Regions from separate parts of the Homo sapiens genome. Here regions 2 and 3 are each linked to region 1. Evidence: promoter capture Hi-C in human tissues and cell types (Jung and others, 2019). All regions are on one chromosome and are shown on one strand. The core of a region is centred on a gene start or on the middle of the fragment in contact, and the rest is flanking DNA. Distances in the headings are between cores, read along the strand shown. Region 1 holds the start of NTRK3 (neurotrophic receptor tyrosine kinase 3). Region 2 has its middle 170 kb from the start of LINC00052. Region 3 overlaps NTRK3 (neurotrophic receptor tyrosine kinase 3).

The links. Contacts are between HindIII fragments. The study calls those that stand out against the background at their distance.
Region 2: a contact is called between a fragment that was not itself captured here and the fragment with the promoter of NTRK3 in region 1, in 1 of the 25 tissues and cell types used here (dorsolateral prefrontal cortex).
Region 3: a contact is called between a fragment that was not itself captured here and the fragment with the promoter of NTRK3 in region 1, in 2 of the 25 tissues and cell types used here (aorta and dorsolateral prefrontal cortex).

The regions. Positions count from the first base shown.
Region 1 is chr15:88,254,715-88,259,004 of GRCh38, reverse strand. NTRK3 (neurotrophic receptor tyrosine kinase 3) reads left to right here and starts at 2,266. Exons shown (of 20, transcript NM_001012338.3): 1 at 2,266-2,361; 2 at 2,519-2,721; 3 at 2,837-3,099. The coding sequence starts at 2,852. The region is part of intron 1 of NTRK3-AS1 (NTRK3 antisense RNA 1); the gene reads right to left. RefSeq lists enhancers at 413-707, 3,048-3,584, 3,585-4,122. The HindIII fragment of the contact is 6,423 bases long and covers 1-4,290 here.
Region 2 is chr15:87,743,897-87,748,186 of GRCh38, reverse strand. No RefSeq gene overlaps it. Among named protein-coding and RNA genes, the nearest start is that of LINC00052, 170 kb to the right of the region's middle. The HindIII fragment of the contact is 5,550 bases long and covers 1-4,290 here.
Region 3 is chr15:87,899,144-87,903,433 of GRCh38, reverse strand. All of the region lies in intron 17 of NTRK3 (neurotrophic receptor tyrosine kinase 3), which reads left to right. Among named protein-coding and RNA genes, the nearest start is that of MIR11181, 45 kb to the left of the region's middle. The HindIII fragment of the contact is 4,263 bases long and covers 1-4,193 here.

The DNA.
Region 1 (4,290 bases), core at 1,017-3,516:
CCATTTTACTGTCAGGATGAAAGACTTCTTGCCCATCAGGGCCCCTTGCTCCACAATCTGCATTTTTACCAAATCCAGAGGGGTTTTTAAAGGTTTTTTGTTGTTGTTGTTTTTGTTGTTCTAACTTATGGATGTCTCTTCTTCTCTGCTTGACATGTTAAAAATCCTCTCTCTCTCTCTTTCTTTCTCTCTCTCTCTCTCTCTCAAAAAAGTGGGCTGGGCATCTTTTGGACACAACCATTTCAGTTCCAGGCTGGAGCACTGATGCTGGGCTGAATCCACTTGGCGTTCCCTGCCCAGGAGTGGTCTGAGAGAGGCTGTGTTTCTCTGCTGCCACCTGCCACCTCCCAAGAGAGGCCAAGTGTTAGGATCTGACTACACCTCAGTTTCCTGACTCTCAGATATTCTAAAGCCAATCCCAGAATGGCACTTGAAGTGACAGGGAAATTCCCAGTGGCCTAAGGACAGCCAGGATTGGCCTAGGGCCAGTAGCAAGTGGTTTGAGAGTCCAAGGAGGTCTTCACACTCTGTCCCCGCCTGCTGGTGGGAGGGCAAAATGCCAGTCTGGAGACAAGGCCATAATGGCGACGGGGGTAAAAATCTCCCTGGGGCCAAGGGAAGGTGGAACGTGACGGGAAGTCGGGAAAACTGCCTTGTATAGGCATGTTCTTTTCTTCCATTTTTTTCGTCCAAGTTTTTACTCCAAGCGACAGTGCCACCCGAAGGCGACCGGCCTGTTTGTGGTTGCGCCTGGGGCAGGCGGTGACACCGGCATACCCCTTCCCCCATCTTGCCTGCAAGTTGCATGACCTGCATCGGAATCCACAGGGGGGCGGGGGAGACTCCTTTCAGATACTGGATGCAGTTGAATTGAATTCAATGTATTTTGCTTCCTCGCCTGCCCTCCTCCAAGCTCGGGAAGGAGAACCCTGCTTTCTTCTGCGTGTGAATGCTGTAGTGTGTCTGCCTGCTCGGACTCCCCTAACCCTTTCTTCTCCTTTCCCACAGCGAATGCTCGTTTTTTTTTTTTTCAGCAAACAGCTCACACTTGGCATCTTTATGTTTTATTAAGAAAAAAATCCCTACCAGCGCAAAAGCGGGGCCCCCCCCACACACACTTCTTTCCCGGATGAGATCTGAGCTCTCGTCGAAAGCTGCACCTGCTTTGCGTCCCTACCAGGAAGGGGTGCTTGTGTGGGAGGGAAGGAGGAGGTTCTGCGCCCCCGAATCCGGAGAAAGCAGCCCGCCCGCCCCCTCACCCGGCAGCCAGCTCAGCTCACCCGAGAGCTGAGCCCGAGAAGCCGGCCTCTGACGGTGCTGGCGTGGCGCTTGCCAAAATATGCCCCTTGCATCTCAATTTCCCCCGGCCATTTCTCTTGCACGCACAGCTCGCCCGGGGCCACCTCGGCTCTCCAGCGCAGCCCTTTCGACCCCTGTTTCTTCCTTCCCCGATCCATGCCTGCTCAAGGCCGAATGCAAAACCCACCTCCAAGAAAGCGCAGCGGGCACGGGGGGCACCTAGCGTGCCATGTCCCGCAGTCCCCTCCCAGCCAAGACCAGAGCCCCAGACTCTAGATTACGGAAATGAGTGTCATTCAGACCAAGGACTGCGCGTCTGCGGTCCCGGTCCCCGGCTCTGGGTGCTTCTCTGGGGTGTCTGTGCGCTCCGGCACCCCCCGTCGCCGTCCGTGAGCCTGCGCCCCCCACCCACCCAGGCTTGGGAGCGCCCCCCACCCAAGGCTTGGGAGCACTCCCCAATCACCTCCGCCACGTTCATTTCACTTCCTACCGCGGTCCGGATTGCAGCAAAACCGGGTAGCGCGAGGGCCAAAAAGTGGAAAGGAGAGCGCCTTTCCGTGTCGTGCAGCCAGCTCGCCAACTCTCCCTCCCCAGCCCCGACCCTCGCAATCTCAAATGCAACTTTTTCCCTTCGGTCTCGGTTTCCCCCGGGCTGCGGCTAGCGGGCGCCGCGCTGCGAGGCGTGGAGCGGGCGGGCTGCCGCGAGGCTGCGGGTGGCGGTGCCGGCTACAGCCGCGAGCCGGCGAGTGGGTGGGTGGGTGGGTGGGGAGGAGGGAGAGGACAGGCGGGGAGAGAGACGGGTGTGGGGAGGGGAGGGAGGGGGAGATTCCGCTCTCCTGCCGCTCCCAGCCCGGGCGGGGGGCGGGGGGAGGAGGCCGCGACGAGGGAGGGGAGGAGGGAGGGAGGAAGGGAGGGAGGGAGCCGAGGAAGACGCTCCGATAACCCGTGCGTTTCGTAAGGCTCGGAGCACTTGTACATTTCTGCAGCCGCGCGGCGAGCCATTCGCGGCGGCTGCTGCAGCTCCTACTGCATCTTCCTTCTCTTCCTTTCCTCGGGCTCCGGGTGTGTGTATGTGTGAGAGTGAGTGTGTGTGTTTTGCAGGTGCGTGGTGTGTCCGTTTTAATTCTGCCCAGTAGGTGGGACTTGGTGACTTTAGCACCATTTTTTCCTTTTCCTTTTTTTTTTTTGCCTCCCCACCGTCTGTTGCAACCCTGCAAAGTCTCGGAGTCGGAGAGCGCGCCTCGCTTCCAGAGCCCCCGGACCCGGCGAGTCAGCGATCGCCGAGCCGGCCACCATGCCCGGCAGACCGCGCCACTAGGCGCTCCTCGCGGCTCCCACCCGGCGGCGGCGGCGGCGGCGGCGGCGTCCGCGATGGTTTCAGACGCTGAAGGATTTTGCATCTGATCGCTCGGCGTTTCAAAGGCAGAGGCCCCCCCTCCCCCTTCCCCCCTCCCTCGCCGTCTTTGTTTCCTTCCCCCCCTGCTCTCCCCACTCCCCCCACCCCACCCCCCTCTCCTCTCCTCCTCCTCTTTTTTAGAAGCAGCGATCGGAGATGGATGTCTCTCTTTGCCCAGCCAAGTGTAGTTTCTGGCGGATTTTCTTGCTGGGAAGCGTCTGGCTGGACTATGTGGGCTCCGTGCTGGCTTGCCCTGCAAATTGTGTCTGCAGCAAGACTGAGATCAATTGCCGGCGGCCGGACGATGGGAACCTCTTCCCCCTCCTGGAAGGGCAGGATTCAGGGAACAGCAATGGGAACGCCAGTATCAACATCACGGACATCTCAAGGAATATCACTTCCATGTAAGTCAGGCGGCCGCTCCCCAGCCTGCCTCCCCCGCGCTCTGCGTCTCCCTCCTGCCCACCCGCGGCCGGGAGCCGGCCCTCCGCCCGCCCCAGCTCGCCGCTGCCCGCCGCCCGCTGGGCGCGCGTCAGGCTCGCTCTGGCTCGGGAGATGCTCTCCGGCTGCGCATTCCAGGTGACTCCGGCCCTGGCGAGGCGCGATCCGGCTATGCGTGTGTGTGCCTCTCCCCGGAGAGGACCCCGGCCGCCGAGGGCACGCGGGGCCCAGCTACCGCCCGCCTCCCAACCAGTTGCTGGCTCGTTTCGATGGTGCAAATTGTTTTTTTTTGCTCCCCACTAAATAGCAACAGTTTGGCCACGCTCAAGTGGAATAAAGTAGACGAGGTTCGATTCTTTGGCAGAGGCGGCAGCGGCGGTGGCAGCGGCGGCAGCGCTTAGCCGGCAGGGAAGGTGACAGATAGGGACTGCTCGCGATCCAGCCGAGGTGTTTAACTATTTCCATTTGGAAACAGCAAAACATGCTGACAAGTAAACAAGTTGCGAGCTGGCTGCTCGCGGGGAGACTTTGGACGTGTGGAGGCCGTCATGGACGCCTACCTCTTCCCTTCCCCTCCTGCAGCCCGCCCTCTCCAGCCCCATTTTGGGCATTTCCGAGACACCCCTTTGCCACCCTCATCTGCATCTGGGCGCCTACAGATCCCTTCCCAGTTTGGGCTTTGATAACTGCTCGGAACTATTCCGAGTCAGGATGGCGCAGGGAGAGGAGAGGGCGTGTGTTTTGAGGAGAGGGGTTTCTTGTGTGATCGTGCGGATCGGTTCATTTGGAACATTCAACTCTGGCTGGCTTTTGCTTGGTTCTGCCCCCTCCGAGGGAGACCAGTGGTGGCCTGCTCTTTTCTCCTTGCTATTTTTCTTTGGTGGGGATGGCAGCAGACGCAAAGGAGAGGACAGATCGAGGGCTGGGGACTGGAGAGTCTGCTCCTCTTTTCTTTCGTTGACCTCGGCCAGGTGACCCCTTCCTAACCTACCACCCTGGAGAAGGGTGTGGACCATACTGGAATTGCTCAGAGGATAATTCTCACCTCTTTTCCCCCAAGGCTTCCAGCCCTTGGGGACCCTCAGCAATGGGTAGGCAGCTGAGAAGGGTTTGTGCTGAGGTCCTGGCCAAGGTCTGGAGGAAGGCATTTTGGG
Region 2 (4,290 bases), core at 1,079-3,578, 510 kb after region 1:
ACCATGTTGGCCAGGCTGGTCTCAAACTCCTGACCTCAGGTGATCCACGCACCTCAGCCTCCCAAAGTGCTGAAATTACAGGCATGAGCCACCACGCCTGGCCCCCAGTTGCCTATTATATGCACGTGGTATTTCCTTCCTAGAGTTAGTTATCCTGATTGAAACCCACCATGTTTTGCTATGTTTTGTTATTCTTCTATAGCCCCCTTATCTGATTGATGTTGTTTTTAGCATTGTTCTTTGCTTTTCACTTGTTGGCTTCTGAACTGTTGGTTCTAGCCCATAAGGAAGAATGAGCCAGAAAATTTTGTATTATTTTTGTAGCATGAGGGAGACAAAATTCATGCATTAGAAAGGCCAGATAGGAAAATCAAATAAAATGTCTGCCCGCAGCAGGGAGGGCAACCGATTATACTCTCCTAGGAAAACTTTTGTTTGTTTGTTTTTAACTTTTGCTTTTGTGAAGGAGTTCAGCTTTGTTCAAGTTACAGAAGTGAAGAGCTACATGCGACATAGAAAAAGACATTTTCTTGAGCATTTCTTAATTAGGAAAGTTTCTAATCAGTTACTCCTGACACAGTCACTTTAAATACTGCATTATCACATCTGCAGGCTTTGGGGAAAATGGAAGTGAAAGGCTTAGCAATATCTACACTTTAAGATGTTCATTGGCATTAGAGGTGTCTCTAAATATGATAATGCAGGTTGGTTTAAAATAGATAAATAAAATGATTTTCATCTTCATCTAGTGCCAAGGAACAGTTGGGCTGAATATTGGATTGAGCCTGACATCTGTTATGGAGTTCAACCAGAGGAAGCTGGCTTGAACTTGTTGTTGGTTAATTACCCTTCTTGGAAGGCCAGAGAGGCTGGAGAGGTTGCTCGCTGGCTCAGTGAACTGCCATGAGGGATGGATGAAGCAAGGCTGTAACATGAGGTGACCAAATGCAGATGAACTGCAGAGGCTGAGTACAGAATCATGCCCACAGAGGACCACTGAGGGATAAACCAGAGAATCAGATCTGCAGTCAACTTCCAGGGCACAGGTCAGGAATGGAGTTGGGCTGAGGAGCATGGTACAGGGGACCCACAAGGGACTAGGGCTTCTCCTGTGACTGATCCTAGGGCCCCCAACTTCCTCTTGATGACCATATGCAAAGTCAGGCTTTGGATAGAAAGACACTGCTTGGTGCCTGGGCAGACTGATGGAAATGTTCTTAATTCTTCACCAAGCCCGTGATAAAGATATTAAATCGTACTGACCCTATAGGGTCACTCCATGGGGCATTATGCTATTTAAACTAGATGACAGGTACTTCAGTTCACTGCATTTTGAATGAGTATTTACTCAGCTGCTTAACATTAAATTAAATGAGAAAAATAAAAGGAGGCAAGAAGGAAGTAACATAGGATCAGGTTTTTACCTATTTATACTGAGTTTTATCAAACATAATCACTTAGATTCCACTACCAAGGGCTGGCTATTAGCCACAAATTTGAAAAGTGAGGCTAGGTTGTCCTATGATCATAACAAAAGTGCATGCTGTTAATTTGACAGAGAAGAGAGAAAAGCTGTAAAAGGAAGACACATGTTTCTACAAAGCACCCCAGGGATATGGAGGAGAAACAAGCAGTTTTAGACTTCAAAAGCTGTGATGACATCATTTTATGACTTCACATGTCATTTATTAGTAACAAGGAGACTTGTTGACATTTATTAGATACTTATTCTATGCCAGCCACTCTTTCCAGGACTTTGGACATGTAGTCTCTGTTAATCTTCACAGAATTGCTAAGAGTTAGTTACTATAATTCCATTTTATAGGTCAAGAAATTGAGGTTCAGGGAAGTTAAGAAACTTGTCCAAGGTTACACAGCTGATAAATGACAGAGCCAGAATCAGACTCAGTGTAAAAGCTTTTTATACATTCTCTTATTCAAATATCTCATCAGAAAGTTAGTATTTGTATCTTCATTTTATACATTTGGGGATCAAGGTTCAGAGATGTAATGCAAATTACCTGAGGTCACATGGTAAATACAAGCCAGGAGTCAAAATTGCATCTGTGTTACCCCGTAATGTGGTACATGGAAGACACCACACTGTCATTTCTCTCTCATTCTGGCCAAAAATACATAACTGAAATCTAAGTATGCGGAGACAATCAAACCAGTCCTCACTGAGTGGCGTTAAGCAAAATGACTGGACCGTACTCAACAGCATCAATGTCATGAAAGGCAAACAAAGATGGGGAATTAAAAAACTGAAGATACACATTAGCTGGTTGGGATGTGGATTTTGTACTGCATCTGTGTTAAAATACATCATCTACAAAGGACAGTATTAGGGCAGTTGGGGAGATTTGAGTACTAATAATTTTTTAGACAATTGTATTGTGTTAGTGTTAGATTTCCTTGAGTACAATAGCTGTATTGTGGTTTTATAAGGGAATGTCCTTGGTCTTTAAAGATAGCCTGCTGAAGTATTTAGGAGTTGAATGTGATGATGCCCATAACTGCCTCTCCAATAGTTTAGTTAAAAAGTGTGTGTGTGTATGTGTGTGTACACATCCGTATGTATATGCATGTATATATGTATGTCTGTATGTGTCTATCTATCTATATGTATATTTGTGTGGTGACAGAGAGAGAGAAAAGAAATTTTAATAATTGATAAATTTAGTTGAAAGGTATATAAGTGTTTTCTGCACTATTCCTGCAACCTTTCAGTAGATTCATTTTTTTTTCACAAGTTTAGAAGTTGGTGGCAAATACCTCTGTCTGGATGACTCCCCAGCTCCACTTCTTCACCTCTACTCTAAGGTGCACAAGGTCCACACTGAAGATCTGAACCACGAGTAAAAGGATGGATTGCTCTTCCTCTAGCTATAATGAGCACCACTTAATACTTACTGTATATTCCATCAACAAATGTTTTATTGGGCGCTTACTCTATACCAGGAACCCCCTCTGGGCCCTGAGGATAAATAATGATAAAACAAAGTTCCTGACCTTGTGGGGTTGGGGAAACTAGCGTAGAGGACAGAAAATAAATAGTTAAATGAAGAAATGCTTACTATAACTTCAGCCACAGATGAAATAGGACATAGCTCAGAGAATGATGAGAAAGAACGTATGGCTACTTAGATAAGGGATCAAGGAAGGCCTCTCTGGTGAGGTGATGATTAGGCTGAAATTTGAATAAGATGAGGGAGCAAGTCCATGGCAGATATGGAAGGAGTGTGTTCCACACCAGGGAAGAGCAAGTGCAGGCCCCATAGTGAGACATTCTGGAGCCACCCCAAGCACTTCATATATCTTTTAATCTCACTAAAACCTCTCCCCACTTTAGTTTTATTTTGTTTTTGTTTATTTTTCAAAACGTGCACTATGCTTTAGCAAGATTCCCTTAGAGCATAAAATAGCATTTTTCCTTAAGGTGCAATCTTTGCTTTTCAGAAAATGTAGGCAAGGAAATATACGTACTGTTGAAAGACATTTAGGTGTAAGAAATGTCACATCTCATTCCTTTTAAAAACGAAATCTAACAGGTTCTTTCTCCATATTCCAAGTTTGAAAAGAAATATAGTTCTACTCATTTTCCTTGAGGTTACTCTTATCTTCTGGTTTCTATAGGAGTTTGAGGATTCACACAGCACAGGCCACTTGGGAAAGTGGCTCTACATTTGGATCATCTACTGAAATGCTCTTACTTTAGACTTGCTCCCCCCAAATTTTTTTGTGTGTATTAATTTGGAAGAGCACTTCATACTGATTTGGTCAGTTATGTATATTACCGGCAAATATTCTTTTTTTTTTTTTTTGACAGAGTCTTGATCTATCTTTTATCCAGGTTGGAGTGCAGTGGCGTAATCTTGGCTCACTGCAACCTCCGCCTCCTGGGTTCAAGCCATTCTCCTGCCTCAGCCTCTCAAGTAGCTGGGATTACAAGCAACCACCAGCATGCCTGGGTAATTTTTTTTTTTTTTGGTAGTTTTAGTAGAGATGGGGTTTCGCTATGTTGGCCAGGCTGGTCTCAAACTCCTGACCTCAGGTGGTCCACTTGTCTCGGCCTCCCAGAGTGCTGGGATTACAGGCGTGAGCCACCATGCTCAGCCTCATTTCATTTTTGGCTTTAGCTTTTGACAACCTATTTTCAATATTATATAAATAATAACCTATGCATTTTTCCTAGAATTATTATAGTTTTACTACAATTAAATCTTAAATTTATTTAAAACTAATGTTGATATGGGATGTAAATCTAATTTTATTTTACTTAAAATTTGT
Region 3 (4,290 bases), core at 813-3,312, 360 kb after region 1:
AGCTACAGGGAAGATGATGGAGGAGGGGAGGGAATCTTTCTGGTTGTGCCATCCAGGACCACTCACTGAGAATGTTGCCCTAGTCTCGTGATGGGACTTCTTGGTCTGCATCTTATCTTCAAAGCTGGTCAAGTCCCTTTGCTTCCGCAATTCTTTTGGGACAAATGACTCATGAGAAATTCATATGACTACAAGAATTGTGACACCGCCTCCTGTCTGGCGATGATGTGGGTTCTGCTATTTCTAGACTGGTGCCCACCTCTCTTGAGCCTTAGCTGGTTCCTCTGATTAGTGCTGCCTCCTCTCTTCCTGCCACTTGTGGCTAGCCCTAATGGAAAGTAGATCTCCAGGCAGATGCATCCGGCTGAAGAATCCTGGCACCGGGGCAAATGCAGCCCTCCAAGGAAAGCTTTTAGTTCAGACACCGGTCTCAGAGCCCACAATGTGAACTGTGTCCTGTGAGGCTTTATGGCCAGTGAAGCTCTGGCATTTGGGTGCAGACATGTAGGGTGGGGAAGGAGCAAGGGGGAGTCGGGGTGAGAGGAGGCTTATCGTAGTTTCATCCTAGCTGGGCATGTCGGTTTTTACATGGGCCTCTGGGATCTCTCTGAATCTTTTTTCTTTGGTTCATTTCTAGAAATAGACATTGTATTTCTAGAAATAGAAACTAACTTGAGAGTCGAATTTTCTAGTGTTTTCTCAGGATTTTTTCAGCTGTGACAGAAAACTCTCTACCTTAAGCAAAAAGGCAATGTACTGTCTTTATAATAAAATTTTTGTTTTCCAGGTTTAGGAATTATTTCTAGTGTTGGCTTCATTCTAAGACCTAAATAATGTCACCATGTAGAGCCTGTTGCTTCCTCTCTCCCTTCTTCCTTCTCATCTCTACTCTGACTTCTTTCCATAATTTCATCATCATTCTCTGCCTCTCTCTTTGTCTGCCCAAGACCATGATCTTAGAGAAAGAGATGTTAACGGGAAATAGATTTCCAAACAATCAAGGCTAATGTATTTTGAAAATTATGATGACAAATGCTGCCACAGTTGAACACATTATCTGGGACCTAGATGTTCAGTAGTGAAGGCTTGTCCTCGTCAGGGAGGCCTTGCCATCAGGAGCCTAGCTGATGAGGTGAGAAATTATCAGTGCCATTTCTACAAGAGTGGGACGGGACATTATGCAGAGAAAAGCTCCAAGAGAAAGACACAGGAAGCAAAGTCCATGACTGGCTTCTTTTTTCCAATCTGTCTATGGAGGAACATAGATATTTTCTGATGTCATCTTTATGAGTGCTCTCTGGGCTGGTGTAGGTTCCCATCTTACTTCATTGAATCTGCTGATTTAGATATTTCTGAATGAAAATTCCCCTTCAGCTTTTCTGAGTGTTTTATATAAATCACATTTATAGGATTTCTATCACATTGTCCAAAATGTGCCACCCTAACCTATCAATTTACATGCCTTAAAACATTTTTACTAATGAGTCTTTTTTTAATTTAGAATGTATAAGAACTTTAACTTGGTGGTGAATAAGAACTTTGGTTTTGGAATCAGAATAATTTGGGTACAAGACTTGGATTTTTCTATCTCAAGCATTTTTGAATAAGATGCTTAACCTCTTCCTCTCCTTTTTCCCTTCCTCTCTCCCTTTCTCCCCCTCTCCCCCCCTCCCCAACTTTCCTCCTTCCTTTCTTCCTTTCTCAATACAATGCTGTCGATAATAGTAGTTTTCATAGCCAATGCGTTTTAGGAGGATTGAGCGAAGCAGTGCATTTTAATTCATTTAGCATATATCCTAGCACAGTATAAACATGCAATAAGTTGTTCTATATCCATGTTCACTGGGACAAGAACTTAGCCCAACTCAACTCCCAAACTTGGAATGCTGAAAGCATCTCTTTCTACCTCTGTTATGGTGGAGGCCAGAGCTTCAGATAAATTAAGATGAGGGCTCTACCCTTGGGGATTACCTACCCCAGCACTCAGCCTGGCTTGACCTTTTGGGGACCCACTAGGTGACCCTGAGAAAGATACTTCATCCCAGTTTCGTTAGCCTACAAACAAGAAGTCCACCTGCTCAAATTCCCCTTCTATATTTTTTGGAAACAGGAATGTGTGTTAACAGAGGAGGAATGCCTTTGAATAACAACTCTCCAACTGTGATTTCTGGCTTCACATTTAAGACTTTCTTGTAGGTTCATCCTCAGAGCAGTCCTCTCCTGCCTTTTGACCTTGAAGGAGAAGCCAAGAGGCAGGGCTTGTTTATAAAGAGAGATGGAGCAGCCCACAGCTGCAGGCCTCAGATTATGGCCTGGAATCCCAGATGCTGCATGGAGGTACAGCTCCTCCATCTCTTTCATCTGAACCTGCCCTTGGCCTACACCCTTCACTGCCAAGAGGCACCCCAGGACCCAGTTGTAGAGTAGCAGGCTGTGTGGAACGAAGTGGACCTCAGAGCTCTAACCTTCTCACAGGGCCAGGAGGGGCATCCAAAGATTATCCAGTCTCTACTTGACCAAATCATCCCCTTTTGGAACTGGATGATCCCTAAAGGTCAACTAGTCGAAGTCTTTCCCTCACCCTACCAATTATGCAGATGAGAACACAGAAGGCCAGGGGTGAGCCAGGAGGTATGATGCAAACTAAGGCAGGGCCGTGGAGCTCCTGAATTCTGGCCCATGCTCTCCTTCACTGCCTACAGCACACACACACACACACACACACACACACACACACACACACCCTCTGTAAAGTCAGGCTGCTGATGCTGCAGGTGTTAGGAAGGGCCTTGAGTTGAGCTTTCGTTCAGTGTTCTTGATGTCCTGATTCAGATGAGAAAATTATGCTCATGCAATTTTTGAGCAGAGAGGAATCTTAGCAAAACTCTGGTCCAACTATGTCATTATTCCAAGTATGAACATTGAGACCAAAAGAAAACATGGGCTGCCAAGACCACAGGATGGCACACTAGTAGAACTGGGACAAGAACCCAGATGACCTGAGTCTGAATCCAGTGCTCTTTTCACTAAGGTTCCTGGTTTATCTTGGTGCCAGACCTTCCCTCTGCCTGTCCCCATTCCAGGATGCTAAAGATGCCTCTAGGCCTTGCCAGGGCTGTGTGGCTGGGTTAATAGATGCCCCTTTCCTGGCATTTCCCAGGGAAAGGCCCAACTAGAAACCTATGGTGCTTAAAAAGAGTGGTGGTACTTCTTTTTTTGATGAATCACCTTGCAGTTCCCAGAGTGCTTTGACTGCTGTTACCACCCAACCTCAGACTTCCTTGAGAATTTAACGCTGTTATTTTTTCCAAGTTGAATCCCCACTTTTAAATGAAGATAAAGGACTTTATCAACTGTTTCATGTCTGTGGTCCTGCAAGTGATCTATGAGCTCTCTCCTCTCAGCAGCAAGCATCCTTCCTTTAGAATTAAAGGGTCTTTTTTCATGACTCAAAGACAAATCCCATTTTCCATTGGATGAAGAGTACATTCAACTCCCAAGAAAGCTTTAGGTGTGTGAGAAGGCTAATTGTTTCCACCTTCTCCTTGCCCTTATCAAAGCTCCTCCAGCAGCCAGTCAGTGAACAGATGGGAAATTCAGCTCCAGCTCAGAGAAGCTAGATAAGGCAGCCTGTAGCCTGCGAAGGACTTGTATATTCTTTATGTCCTCTCCCATGATGTGCATCCGACTACCCTTTGCCTGGGGATGTGGCCATCAGTAGTAGGTTTCTGCTGTGCTATGTATTGTTTACTGAAGAAATTAAAATATGCAAAGTGTTCCTGGTCCCCCTTTTTGGGCTCCCTCTCCAGCTCCTTCTGGCATTTTCTGTTGGCAGTTAATAAAACAAAAGGGGGGCCCAAAGGCTCGGGTCTCCCTCCAGCTAGAATGGTTAATTTGGAGTGGTTTGGAAGTAGTAGATATTACCTCTAGCTACAGTTGTGCCTTTCTGGCTGATCTGTCCAACCTGCAATGTGTGTCCTGACTGATGGAGTTCGAATGCTTCATGAAAGGGGCAGGGGATTAAGGGCACAGAAATTGAGGGGGTGGGGGAAGGAGAAAGGAGGGGTGGGTCTCCTTTTGCTTATTATAGCAGCACAAACCAGCAAAGACTTATCTTTCCTCAAGACAGCCTTACGTTGAAAGAGCTACAGTCCAAGACACTTGAAAATTACTCCCTAATCCAGCCTAAATCTTTACCATCCCTTACCACTAATTATGCCCATCTACCTGCACTCATAGAAGTTCCAAATCCAATCCCTTACCTTATTTAAATCCTGGACCCAGAGAATA